Regions from separate parts of the Homo sapiens genome. Here regions 1 and 2 are each linked to region 3. The links are contacts of gene promoters, found by promoter capture Hi-C in human tissues and cell types (Jung and others, 2019). All regions are on one chromosome and are shown on one strand. Each heading gives the region's core, a stretch centred on a gene start or on the middle of the fragment in contact. The rest is flanking DNA. Distances are from core to core; before and after follow the strand shown. Region 1 overlaps RIMKLA (ribosomal modification protein rimK like family member A). Region 2 overlaps FOXJ3 (forkhead box J3). Region 3 holds the start of GUCA2A (guanylate cyclase activator 2A).

Region 1 (3,751 bases), core at 573-3,072, 230 kb after region 3:
TTAGCCTTGAGACATTCTTGAACTCAGTGCCTATAAGATGCAATGTCTTACTATTGATTTGTTTGAGAGGTAGAGATTATGAATTTATTAGTTTTCCACATTTCTTCAGAGTTTAGAGGCATGAGGTGTCAACATTTCCTTTCTGAAACTTTCCTTGATTTTTCTCTCTCCCCAGGCAGAGATAATCATCCTAACTGCTCCCTCCTCCTTTGCTCTCCCTGGACCCTGATGTAGGTCTGTTGGAGCACTTAGCACATTGTGTTACAGTCAGTCTCCTCTCCCTCCCCCTGCTCAACAAGACCCAGGTGCTCTACACAGAACATTAACAGCATTAATAACAACTGTGTGTTGTCTGTCTTCTTAAATTCCAGGGATATTGTTTGTTTTACTCACACCTGTCAACTCCCATGCCCAGCCCTTAAGAAGACAGTGCTTGTTCCTTCCCTGTCAGTCCCTTTGGCTTTTACCATTTGATTGCACCAGGGCCCGGCTTCTGACTACCAGCACCTGCACCTGTTAGAGGGCTTTGTCTGGTACAGGATCCCACGTTGCCCACACATGTATGGCAAGCCAGAAGGGTCAGGAAATTAACACCATGCCCCTGGAGCAGCCTTAACCAAAAACTGAGTTGATGTATAAACACTTGAAATTGGCTGGGCATAGTGGCTCATACCCTGAGAGGTAGACATTATGAGTTTATGAAATCCCAGCACTTTGGGAGGCTGAGGCAGACAGATCACCTGAGCTCAGAAGTTCGACACCAGCCTGGGCAATATGGTGAAAACCCGTCTCTACAAAAAATACAAAAATTAGCCAGGCATGGTGGCTCGTGCCTGTAGTCCCAGCTACTCAGGAAGCTGAGGCAGGAGAATCACTTGAGCCCGGGAGGCAGGGGTTGCAGTGAGCCGAGATCGCGCCATTGCACTCCAGCCTGGATGACAGAGCAAGACCCTGTCTCAAAACAAAAACTTGAAATTGTCAACTCCCTGGCCTCTCAGGTGGAATAACTGAAGTGCATGTACTAAGCCATTTCCTAGAGTTCCTCAGCAGGATTCAGCTCTGGTTGCTGAGAGGTGGTAACTCCCTTGATAAAGTATGTTTTGTTTGCCTCATTCCCTTCTCTATGCCCCTCCCAACATTTCCTGAAATTACTATCCAGAGAGACTACTTGCACTTAAATCCTGTCTGAGTGAGCTTCTACAGAAACCAAACTAACACTAGGCTTGGCCCAAAGTAGGTGCTAAATAAATATTCCCTGAATGAATATGTGAAACAATCAATGTGTTTCAGGAGTGAAAAAAATGCATATTTAAGTTGTGTATCTTTCTCTGTGAGGAGACTATAATCTCCTGGTAGGCAGAGACCATCTAGTTCAACTTTGTATTCCTGCTTAGTAGTGTGTCTGAGTCATACCAACCAGTTCAATAAGTGTTGAATTGAATTAAATCACCTCAAAATCACAGTTGGTGGAAAGAGAAAATGGCCACATAAATGTCTGTGGGTTTTAGTGAGGTGGAGGTGAGCTTTCTTTGGGCATTGTCACAAAGAACTTTAAAAGGGAAGGAGAGGGGTGTGGCATCTACTTGTTAAAAATAAAAATAACTGTTTTACGAGAAAATGCTGTGGGTGGAGTAGGAAGAAATAAGGGGAAAGGTGGAAACTGATGGAGGTGTGCCAAGTCATGTTTGGATGACACATCTTCCTCACAACACAAGATAATCTGAAGTGCTAAGTGGATTATCCACTTTTATTTTTTTATTTATTTTTGAGACAAAGTCTCACTCTTGTCCCCCAGGGCTGGAGTGCAATGGCGGGATCTCGGCTCACTGCAACCTCTGCCTCCCGGGTTCAAGCAATTCTCCTGCCTCAGCCTCCTGAGTAGCTGGGATTACAGGCGCCTGCCACCACGCCCAACTAATTTTTGTATTTTAGGCAGAGACAGGGTTTCATCATGTTGGCCAGCCTGGTCTCGATCTCCTGACCTCAGGTGATCTGCCTGCCTCGGCCTTCCGAAGTGCTGGGATTACAGGCGTGAGCCAGTATGCCTGGCCTATTCACGTTATTTATATAGTTGATTCCTTTCTGGTAACTTTCAGAGTTTCACTGCCAGCCACTGTTACATGATCCTGCTCAAATATAATGGTTCTAAAAGCTACCATAAGTGAGGTCCTTGTTTGCTGTCATGCTTTAGTATCCTGCTGTTTTCTTAATTTTTCTGCTTGTTTTGTACATGAAGGTTTTTTCTGGCATACCAGACATCCGTTTGGTGTTGAAGCTTTCTTTAGTGAATCCAAGGATGCACATGTGTGCACACATATGTGAGTGACATGCATGCACAGGTTGGAGGGTGATGACTCATTATGTATCGGCTTTGTGTAAATGCAAAGACATTTATAGTCAAATCAATTCCAAGGATCTGTATTATAAGACACCTTTACTTTAAACGAGATAATGTGTGAAAGTTCTTAGCAAATAACCTAAAACGCAATAGAGGCTCAATAAAAATCTTGTCCGAATTCAAATCTGAACTACAAGACCTTTTATTATCCATGCCTCTGCTTCCCTCTGTTGTTATGATGATTGAGAATGGTTAAGTTTTAGAACTCTGCTTTCCAATAAAGATTTATTTCTGAAGCTATTTCTCTTTATCATAAAGTGTATTTCTTCGCTATTGCACATACAAATGCGTAAGTCCAGTTATGAAGATTTTTTTTTTTTTTGAGACGGAGTTTCGCTCTTGTTGCCCAGGCTGGAGTGCAATGACGCGATCTCAGCTCACTGCAGCCTCTGCCTCCTGGGTTCAAGTGATTCTTCTGCCTCAGCCTCCCAAGTAGCTGGGATTACAGGCGTGCACACCACCACGCCCAGCTAATTTTTGTATTTTTAGTAGAGACGGGGTTTCATCATGTTGGCCAGACTGGTCTTAAACTCCTGACCTCAGGTGATCCACCCGCCTTGGCCTCCCAAGGTGCTGGGATTACAGGCGAGAGCCACTGTGCCCCGCCTAGTTATGTAGAATTTAACCCAGTATATGGGTTAGAAAAAACAGACTCTGTTCTTTGGGAAAAGTTATCCTGGTTTTCTATCTTGTTTTTAATACATCAAAATATTTTCAAATATAAATAGAGAATTCAAAAGGAAATCAGAACACAATTACCCATAAAAGTAGATTATTCTTTTTTAGAACATAGAGAAAATATTGTTTTGGTTTCAAAAAATTGGTTTTAACTGGGTTGGCAGTTGGTCACTGTCCTAACTTGTTTGAGGTTTGATCTTTTTTCCACTAATATTTCATTGACCTATTTGGGGACAGAGTGGTTGTTTTAGTTTTTTTTTTTTTTTTAAGTGGTTTGAGGCTAAACATAATCTCAAGCCCACCCCATGAGTCTGGGAGACCCCAAAATATTCCAGAAACAATTCAGCTGCCTCTCCCTCTCCCCAAGTTAGGGTGATACCCAAGAGCACTAGGGTACTTAATCACATGAAATCTCTTCTTGGAGGGCATGAGCCTCTGATTGTTGAGGGCTTTCCTTCTGTTGACTAGCAACCAAGCAGAGCCCTGTCCTTCCTGATATCCTGCATCAGCTCTTCGTTCCCTTGACTTGAGGTCCGTAGATTGCAGTGGAAATGTTAACGATCCTGGGAGAGGTGATACATTAAGCTCCATCCTGTATTAAGTTTATTAGGTCCTTTCCTGAGAGGAGATTACTTAAGTGGTTAAAGGTCTCAAAATTTACAGACCTTTTGCCGA
Region 2 (4,098 bases), core at 75-2,574, 150 kb after region 3:
TCAAAAAAAAAAAAAAAGCTTCATACCTAGAATTGTGTTTAGGGTAGCCCTAGGATGGTTGTATCCCCCACCCAATCTTGACAGAAGCAAATGTACGTTCTCTCTGGAGGAAATCACCTTTGACCTAAGCCTGGAAAAATTCCCACAGGTAAGATCTCAAAATAAATGTATTCATAACTAAAAATCACAAAACCCAGAAGGAAATCAGCCACTCACAGCAAAATACAGCAGAAACATCAGTTAGCACAATAAACCACAAGGAATGCAGATATAGAAGTTACTAGACATCCTTGGGACCAGGGTCCAGTGTGGACTGCCCCTCGTCCTGGGAAATGGGGTGTGGCTAAAAAGGCAGCCGTCCCCTTGCCTGTCACGGAACACACTTTCGTGGGGAACCTGGCGCTAAACCACTCACAGACAACCTGCCTCTGGGTCATGGTTTCGTACACAGCAGAGCAGCTTTCTTTATTTAAAAGAAAAAAAATTACTAGACATACTTCTTTACTGTTTTATGTGTGATTTACCTAGTCTTGTATTTTAATTGCCTGAAGGTAGATAGATCTCAAATCTTCATCTCTAGCAGAGATCAATCTCCTAATCTCCAAACAAATATCTAACATTCCCTCCTGGAAATCCCAAATTTACCATGTTTAAAACTGAATTCATCATCTTCTCTTAATATACTTCCTTCCTGGATAAAATGGCACAGCCTTTTCATCTAAGAATGGCTTTCAGGTTTCTAGCTTAACTCTTACTCTTTGTTAGAGCAGACTAATTTTTTTTCCAACTCTTAGTCTCTATGAGGAATTACTTCAGTAAACACTCCTGGCCTCTTAGCCCATTCCTCTCCAAAGAGGTAAACTGGTTAGTACATAGAGCTAACTTAACAAAAGAACTGAGTACCAGGGACTCAGAATCTTTTTATTTTTCTGAGACGGAGTTTTCACTCTTGCTGCCCAGGCTGGAGGGCAATGGCGCCAACTCGGCTCACTGCAACCTCTGCCTCCTGGGTTCAACCAATTCTCCTGTCTCAGCCTCTCAAGTAGATAGGATTACAGGCATGCACCACCATGTCTGGCTACTTTTCTGTATTTAGTAGAGGGGGTTTCACCATGTTGGTCAGGCTGGTCTTGAACTGCTGACCTCAGGTGATCCACCTGCCTCGGTTAGGATCCCAAAGTGCTGGGATTACAGGCGTGAGGCACCACGCCCAGCCCTCAGTCTCTTTCTTTTCACTCTCCATCCAGGATTCTACAAGGCAATGATCTGAGTGTGTCTGCTCTGCTGACCCAAACATCCTCTAGGGTGCACTGTCCCACTGACAGATGGGCATGAGGGGCTGCAGAAAGTCAGCCAACTCATTTGGCTCTTAAACCTAAGTCACGTTCTACAATATAGGTTTTATCAAAAACAAAGGCAACTCCTTTGAAAGTTAAACACAGAGTTACCATAAAACCCAGCAATTATAAGCATATACATCTCCAAGAGAATTTAAATGTTCCTACAAAAACATGCACACAAATGATCATTTGCACACAAATGTGCAGCACTACTCATAAAGCCAGTAAGTGAAAATAACCCAAATGTTTGTCAACTAATGAACAGATAAACAAAGTATGGTTTATCTAAGTAACAGCCATAAAATATACAATGCAACTTTATTCAGCCATAAAAAGGAATGAAGTACTTTTACATGCTACCACATAAATGAACCTTGAAAGCCTCATGCTAAGTGAAAACGACACAAAAGACCACATGCTGTATGATTCCATTTATACGAAATGTCCAGAACTGGCAAATCTATAGAAATGAAAAGTAGATTGGTGGTTGCCAGGAGATGGGGGAAGAGAGGAAGATTGCAGATGGGAAGTGACTGCTAGGAGGTTTCTTTTTAGAGTGATGAAAATGGCCTAATTGATAGTGGTAATGGTTGCACAACTTTGTGAATACATTAAAAACTACTGAATTGTACACTTTAAAATGGTGAACTTCACAGTATGTGATTTTTACCTGAATAAAAAGCTAATTTTTTTAAAGGTACTGTCTTGCTTCTTCATCTGTAGGTTCTTATTTCTCAATCAGCTCAAAACTCAGGCAAGGGAAAATGATCTCATACTAAACTGTCCAAACACCAACACCCTTAGTACCTCCAATAAGTTACCATTTACTATCAAATTCTAACTTCTAGTTATCTTTCCAATCTGCTCTAGCTTCAATGCTTTAGTTCCAGTGTTATTCATTTTTCCTCTAGATTACCGTCCTTAAATGACGTCCTGAACCCTAGCCTTGTTGACTGAAAGAACAAACATATATCAGTCTTCTCCCTACCCAGGCAACTGAACAGCAACAGGGAAATCTCACAAAAGAAGGCTAAGGTTCACATTGAAGTCAGGAAATTTCAAAGTCCTCCAAGTCACAAACAAATCTCTGTGGCATCAACTGTAGTTGAACAACTATATTAACTCATTCAGTTACATCCATAATTTATTTACATGGTTTTATTTGGTGCCTACAGCATAAATCTCCAAATCTTTTGAAAACTAATATGTATCAAGAAAGAGTAGAATGACACAACCAGAATGAGTACTAAAAGCCAGGCATTAGCTAATGAGTATGCTGCAATACAAGCTATTTACTGTATTATATTCCATTACCAACAGAAAAGCATGGAATTTCTTTTAACATAAGCAGTATTCAAGTGTACATTAAACTGAGTTACAAACTATCCACATTTAGGAAGCAGCCATCGCAACACACTAACAGTTGTATAATAACATATTATCTGGGGGCATGGAGTGAAATAGAACTAAGTATTTTGAAAAAGCTCTGAATAAGTTCGTTTTGTTTTTAAGAGACAGAGTCTTGCTTTGTTGCCCAGGCTGGAGTACAGTGGCCAGATGATAGCTCACTGCAGCCTCGAACTTCTGAGCTCAAGCAAACCTCTTGCTTCAGCCTTCCTAGTACCTGGGACCACAGGTGCACACCACTGCATTGGGCCTTTTTTTTTTTTTTTTCTGTAGAAACAAGGTCTTGCTGTGTTGTCCAAACTGATGTCAAACTCCTGGCCTCAAATGATCCTCTCACCTCAGCCTCCCAAAGCACTGGGATTACAGGCATGAGTCATCACACCCAGCTCGAAATACTTACGAGCTCTCTCCCCTCTCCCACCTACACAGAAATGCAATGCTTTATAATTTACAAAAAACTTACTACCATTCATGACCTTGTAGCTGAAGACTCAAGACTGGAATCCCAACTATTGACAGTTACTGTGTGACCTTGGATATGTTAACTTCCCTAAGGCTTAATTTCCTCCTTCATAAGAATGGAAAAATGCAGTAAATGCCTCAGTTACTATGACAGTAGCTTGAGTGAAAGCATTAGTGTAACACCAGACAAAGGTAAGAATTAAAAATTTGTTAAAACTATTACACTTAGGAATGGAAAACCAAACGATGTATGTTCTCATAAGTGGGAGCTAAGCTATGAGGATGCAAAGGCATAAGAATGATACAATCGACTTTGGGGACTCAGGGGAAAGGGTGGGAGTGGGGTGAAGGATAAAAGACTACACATTGGGTACAGTGTACACTGGTCGGGTGATGGGTGCGCCAAAATCTCAGAAATCACCACTAAAGAACTTATTCATGTAACTAAGCACCACTTGTTCCCCAAAAACCTACTGAAATAAAAAAATTAAAAATTCATTTTTTATTTATTTTATTTATTTAAAAAACTGTCACAGCTCTAGAGGTCAAGAAGCTATTCCCTTTTTTTGCTTCTGAATTCAGCCATATCTTTCCAAAAGACTTGAAAGTATAACATTCACTAACATTCATGAAGAAACAACCCCTTTGATTCAAGAAACTTGACTGAACATTTCAGATTATTATACCATTAGTAACAGGTAATCATTAAAGCAGTCACAAAAATAATCTGTATCCTAATCAACCCAAATAGAAGAACTGTGCCAGAGGAAAGAGTAAAGGGAAAGAATCCTGATGAGTGAGAAGCAATCAGTTGTTCATCCCAGCCACTCTAGCTAAACCTGAAGGCAGAGGTGCATCTTGAGCTAAGAAGTCATCTGCTTTCAGAGAG
Region 3 (3,849 bases), core at 1,146-3,645:
CAAGTCCTTGAATACCCAAGAGTTTGGTGCCAGTCTTCTAGTGGGCCAAGTGCCTGTATTGGTTGTCCAAACCAGCTCAGACTGGCTCCCGTGCTCACATGTGGCTCAGTGAACTTGGTGACCTCAGGAGATGTGAAATAAAAGCAAACCCTCCCCACCACCCGCTGCCTTGGTGGTTTGGAGATCCAGATCCTCTCCACGCCTCTGTGTTGTGGCAGCCCCAGGGACAGTGAGCAGCTTAGCAGGGAGAGTGGGGTCCTTCGCTTAGTACATTACATCCCGAGCTTCCAGGGCAGGATAGACTAGGGGATGAAGGAAGGAAGGAAGGCAACACCCAGAGTACTCTGGAATCTGGTTTATTAGCTGGGGGTTGAAGTGGCAGGGAAGGACAGTGTTGGGGCGAGGCCTCCAGTCACCCAGTTCCTCCCCGGGCTGCTCCTCCCGACTGGACCAGGGTAGGTTGAGCTGCTGGGAGTGGAGTATCATGGGTGGCCCTTTCTGCAGGAGAAAAGAGCTTCCCTGCTGCGGAGGGGAGGCAGGCAGTGGGCAAGCCCCCCTAGCATCCGGTACAGGCAGCGTAGGCACAGATTTCACATGTGCCCGGGTCCTCAGCGATTTCCTCTGCACAACAGAGATGGAGCCTCGTGAGAACCAGCATTTCCTCGCGAGGCCCCTGCCGCCCTTGGCCCAGAGCTTGTACGTCACCACCCAGCCCCAGGAGAATCTCAGCAGGCCCGTACTCTGACCTACTGGGCTTTTCGCCCCAAACCAGGGCACACAGACCACTCAAACCAACCAATCAAAGCAGAGATTCCACCAGAAAGAGAGGAAACTAAGACCAGATGAATGGTCTTAGTTCCCAAACCTCAGCAGTTACAACTTGGAATTGAAGTGGGCATGGAACAGACCCACCAATCAGAGCCAAGCTCCCTAGTTCCACCAGTCAGAGCTGAGCCCTTCCTCCAAATCCCACCAATCAGAGCACATCTCTTCCTCAAGTGCCACCACAGTATTCCCGAACCCCACCAATCAGAGAGGAAGGAGGCTGCTCACCCAGCCTCTGAAGTATCTCCTGGGCATTGGGCTCCTTGCAGAGAGGCTTGAGTTCTTCTGGAAAGTTCGGGTTGCTACAGAGGATGGGAACCACAGGTTCACCAGGGATGGGTGCAAAGTTCCTGAGTTTCCCAACCCTGGGCTCCTGGGGCTCCTGGAGGTCTTTGAGCTTCTTCACTGACTCCAGAGAAAAGGAGAAATTTCCATCCTGGAAGAGAGAAGCCCAGAGCATGAGGCCAGGCTGCAGCCTGCTTCCTGGCTGTGCCCCCCGTGCTGGCCCCGGTCCAGCCCAGTGGTGCTCACAGGCAGTGTTCGTGGCATATGGGAGCCAGGCGATCCACAGTGGGGCACTGTGAGGGGCAGAGTTCAGGCCCCACGTCCTGGCTTGGCTCCGTGATGCTGGACACTCTGGAACCCGCAAATTCTGCATGTTGTATGGGGAATGGAGAAAATGGGTGTGAAGCTCCAGGAACACCATAGGTGCCTAATGAGTAGGAGCCAGTGTGCTGATTTTTAGGGAGAGGCAAAGGACCAGCACCCAGGCATCGTAGTTCCACGTGGCCAAGCCCAGGCTGTCTTTCCCCTGCCTGAGAGCGGTGCGGCTGATTACTGGGCCCCCAGCTCCAGCCTGCAGCCTGGTTTTGGTTTGAGAAGCAATAAAAGGCCTCCCGGAATCTGGCTTTGATAGAGATCAGGGCCCCCGCTAGGTGCCAGCTTGGCCTGTCGCCAGCATTGGCACTGGTAGGCATACCCATCTGTCAGGACCTCCAGGGTGTCCATGTGGTTCCTGGGACCCACTGAGGAGTAAGGTCTGGATTTAAATCCAGCTCCTGCACTTCCCACAGCCATGTGCCCATGGCCTGTTACAGAACCTTTGTGAGGCTCAGTTTTCCCCTCTGTAAAATGGGACTAATGATCCCTTTCTTCCAGGTTGATAGTGGAGCCACAGTGAGGGGCTGGGGAAGGAGCCGGCACATAGGACACTCAGTAAATTGGCCAACTCCCCGCCTTCCCCATATGGTTATTCCTCTTCCCTCCACTGGGTTTCTTTCTCCTCCAAAGTTGAAGGGAAAGGTGTGTGTGTGGCTGGACTGAGCAGGAGCTCCTCGAAGAAGGCCAAGCCTGGGACACACACCCTCAATCCAGCCCCAAAGAGGAGGTACTCTCTCAGGGGACCAGACCTGGGCACTAGGGGCAGGGAGCCAGCTGGGCCGGGGTAGGGACACAGGACTCACCTGCACGGTGACCCCTCCTGCCAAGGCGGCCCAGGCCCCAAGGAGGCACAGTGCGGAGAGCAGGAAGGCATTCATGGCAGCAGTGCCCGAGAGAGGGGTGGCTGTTCTGGATGCCAGGGGGAAGCGGCGGGACTTTTAAAGAGGGCAGGTTACTGAGTAACCTGGAAGCCTCTGTCAGTCTCATCTGCTCACCTGTCAGGCCTTATCAGATAAGGCTCGAGACAGCCCTAGGAGATAAGAGCCAGGCAGGGGGGGCCCCGGCCCCTCCCTGAGCACCTACTTTGACCCACAGCCGGGCTGGGTCCTGCATTCATTCACCAACAAGGCACATTCACTCACGACTGCCCTGTGCTGCTGTGTGGGGCCGGCAGACCCTGCCCTTGAGGAGGGGGGCCCAGCCCGACAGTGAAACGCAGGGCGATTAGGGTGGGGTGATCCTAGGATGAGGTGACGGGGCTGCACTGGGGGCTGAGCTCTGGAGAATGGGTGGAAGTTTTCCCAGAGAAGGGACTGAGGACAGAAGGCCATTTCATGCCAAAGGGACAGCCAGGAGGTGAGACGGGCCTGGAATATTCAGGGAAATGTGAGAAATTCCACGGGGGAGGCTGCAGGGCAAGTCAGGGTCTGGGTTTGATTGCCGCGACCTCAAGGAAGCCCTCCGCACAGCCTGGGTTCCGTTCCACCTACTGCCCAGTTGTGAGGCGTGTGAACTTGGGCCAATGCTTTCCCCTCTCTGAGTCTCGTTGTCCCTTGTGTCCCCTGTGGGAACCAAAAATAATACCTACCTCATGGGGTAGGTGTGTGGTAGGCATTACTGTTTGGAGAATCAAGTGAGGTTTTAAAAACATTTAGCTCAATGCCTGGCACACAGAAGGTGCTCAGCAGAGGTCCATTCCCATATTATTAGCAGCCACAGCAGCTCCTGGTCCTCCCTGGCCCCTCTGGTGACCTCCTGCCTGTCTGAGTCACAGGCTGTCCCCATCCTGTGCTGGTCCCCATCCTGTCCTGCCTGCCCTGCAGCCTCAGGGTGTCCTCGAATGAGCTCCTCCCCAATCCGCCCGCCCCCCTTGCCCCTGCAGATACAGTCCCCTTTCCGCGGATCTCACTGGGGAATTGCTTGGGTGTGCCCGCGCCCCTATAGACTCTGACCCCATTCAGACTGCGCCCTCAGGGCAGCGTGCATTCACTGTGTGCTGTTGTGAGCAGGAATCCCCAGGACACAGGAGAAAGGGTAGCCCTGGGATTGTCATCTTTCTACTCAGCCAACCTGGCCCGATGCCAGGACAGCCCTAGGGCGGGAGGTTGGGCAGGAATTCCTGGGTGGGGAGAGTCAACACTGAAGAGGGAATTGGAGAGAGCAGGGCCTGACCAGGAGGGAACTGCAGGGACAAGGCCCTCAGGGAGGGGCAGGTAGCTCCTGGCCCAGCTCCCAGGGCAGTCCTCACAGCTGCACTGGATTTCCCACCCCTTTCTGGTGAGTGTGTGTGTGTGTGTGTGTGTGTGTGTGTTAAGGGGGGGTGTGTCTGCGGAGATGTGTATGTCTGTGTATGCCAAGGTGTCT

The links. The method cuts DNA at HindIII sites, captures the fragments that hold promoters and counts their contacts. A contact is called where the count stands out against the background at its distance.
Region 1: a contact is called between a fragment that was not itself captured here and the fragment with the promoter of GUCA2A in region 3, in 3 of the 25 tissues and cell types used here (IMR-90 fibroblasts, bladder and dorsolateral prefrontal cortex).
Region 2: a contact is called between a fragment that was not itself captured here and the fragment with the promoter of GUCA2A in region 3, in 1 of the 25 tissues and cell types used here (dorsolateral prefrontal cortex).

The regions. Positions count from the first base shown.
Region 1 is chr1:42,392,034-42,395,784 of GRCh38, forward strand. All of the region lies in intron 1 of RIMKLA (ribosomal modification protein rimK like family member A), which reads left to right. Among named protein-coding and RNA genes, the nearest start is that of RIMKLA, 13 kb to the left of the region's middle. The HindIII fragment of the contact is 7,595 bases long and covers 1-3,751 here.
Region 2 is chr1:42,313,336-42,317,433 of GRCh38, forward strand. The region is part of intron 1 of FOXJ3 (forkhead box J3); the gene reads right to left. Among named protein-coding and RNA genes, the nearest start is that of FOXJ3, 20 kb to the right of the region's middle. The HindIII fragment of the contact is 7,614 bases long and covers 1-4,098 here.
Region 3 is chr1:42,162,350-42,166,198 of GRCh38, forward strand. It overlaps GUCA2A (guanylate cyclase activator 2A), which reads right to left and starts at 2,396. Exons shown (of 3, transcript NM_033553.3): 1 at 2,289-2,396; 2 at 1,054-1,261; 3 at 341-621. The coding sequence starts at 2,363. The coding sequence ends at 557. RefSeq lists an enhancer at 2,256-3,220. The HindIII fragment of the contact is 10,088 bases long and covers 1-3,849 here.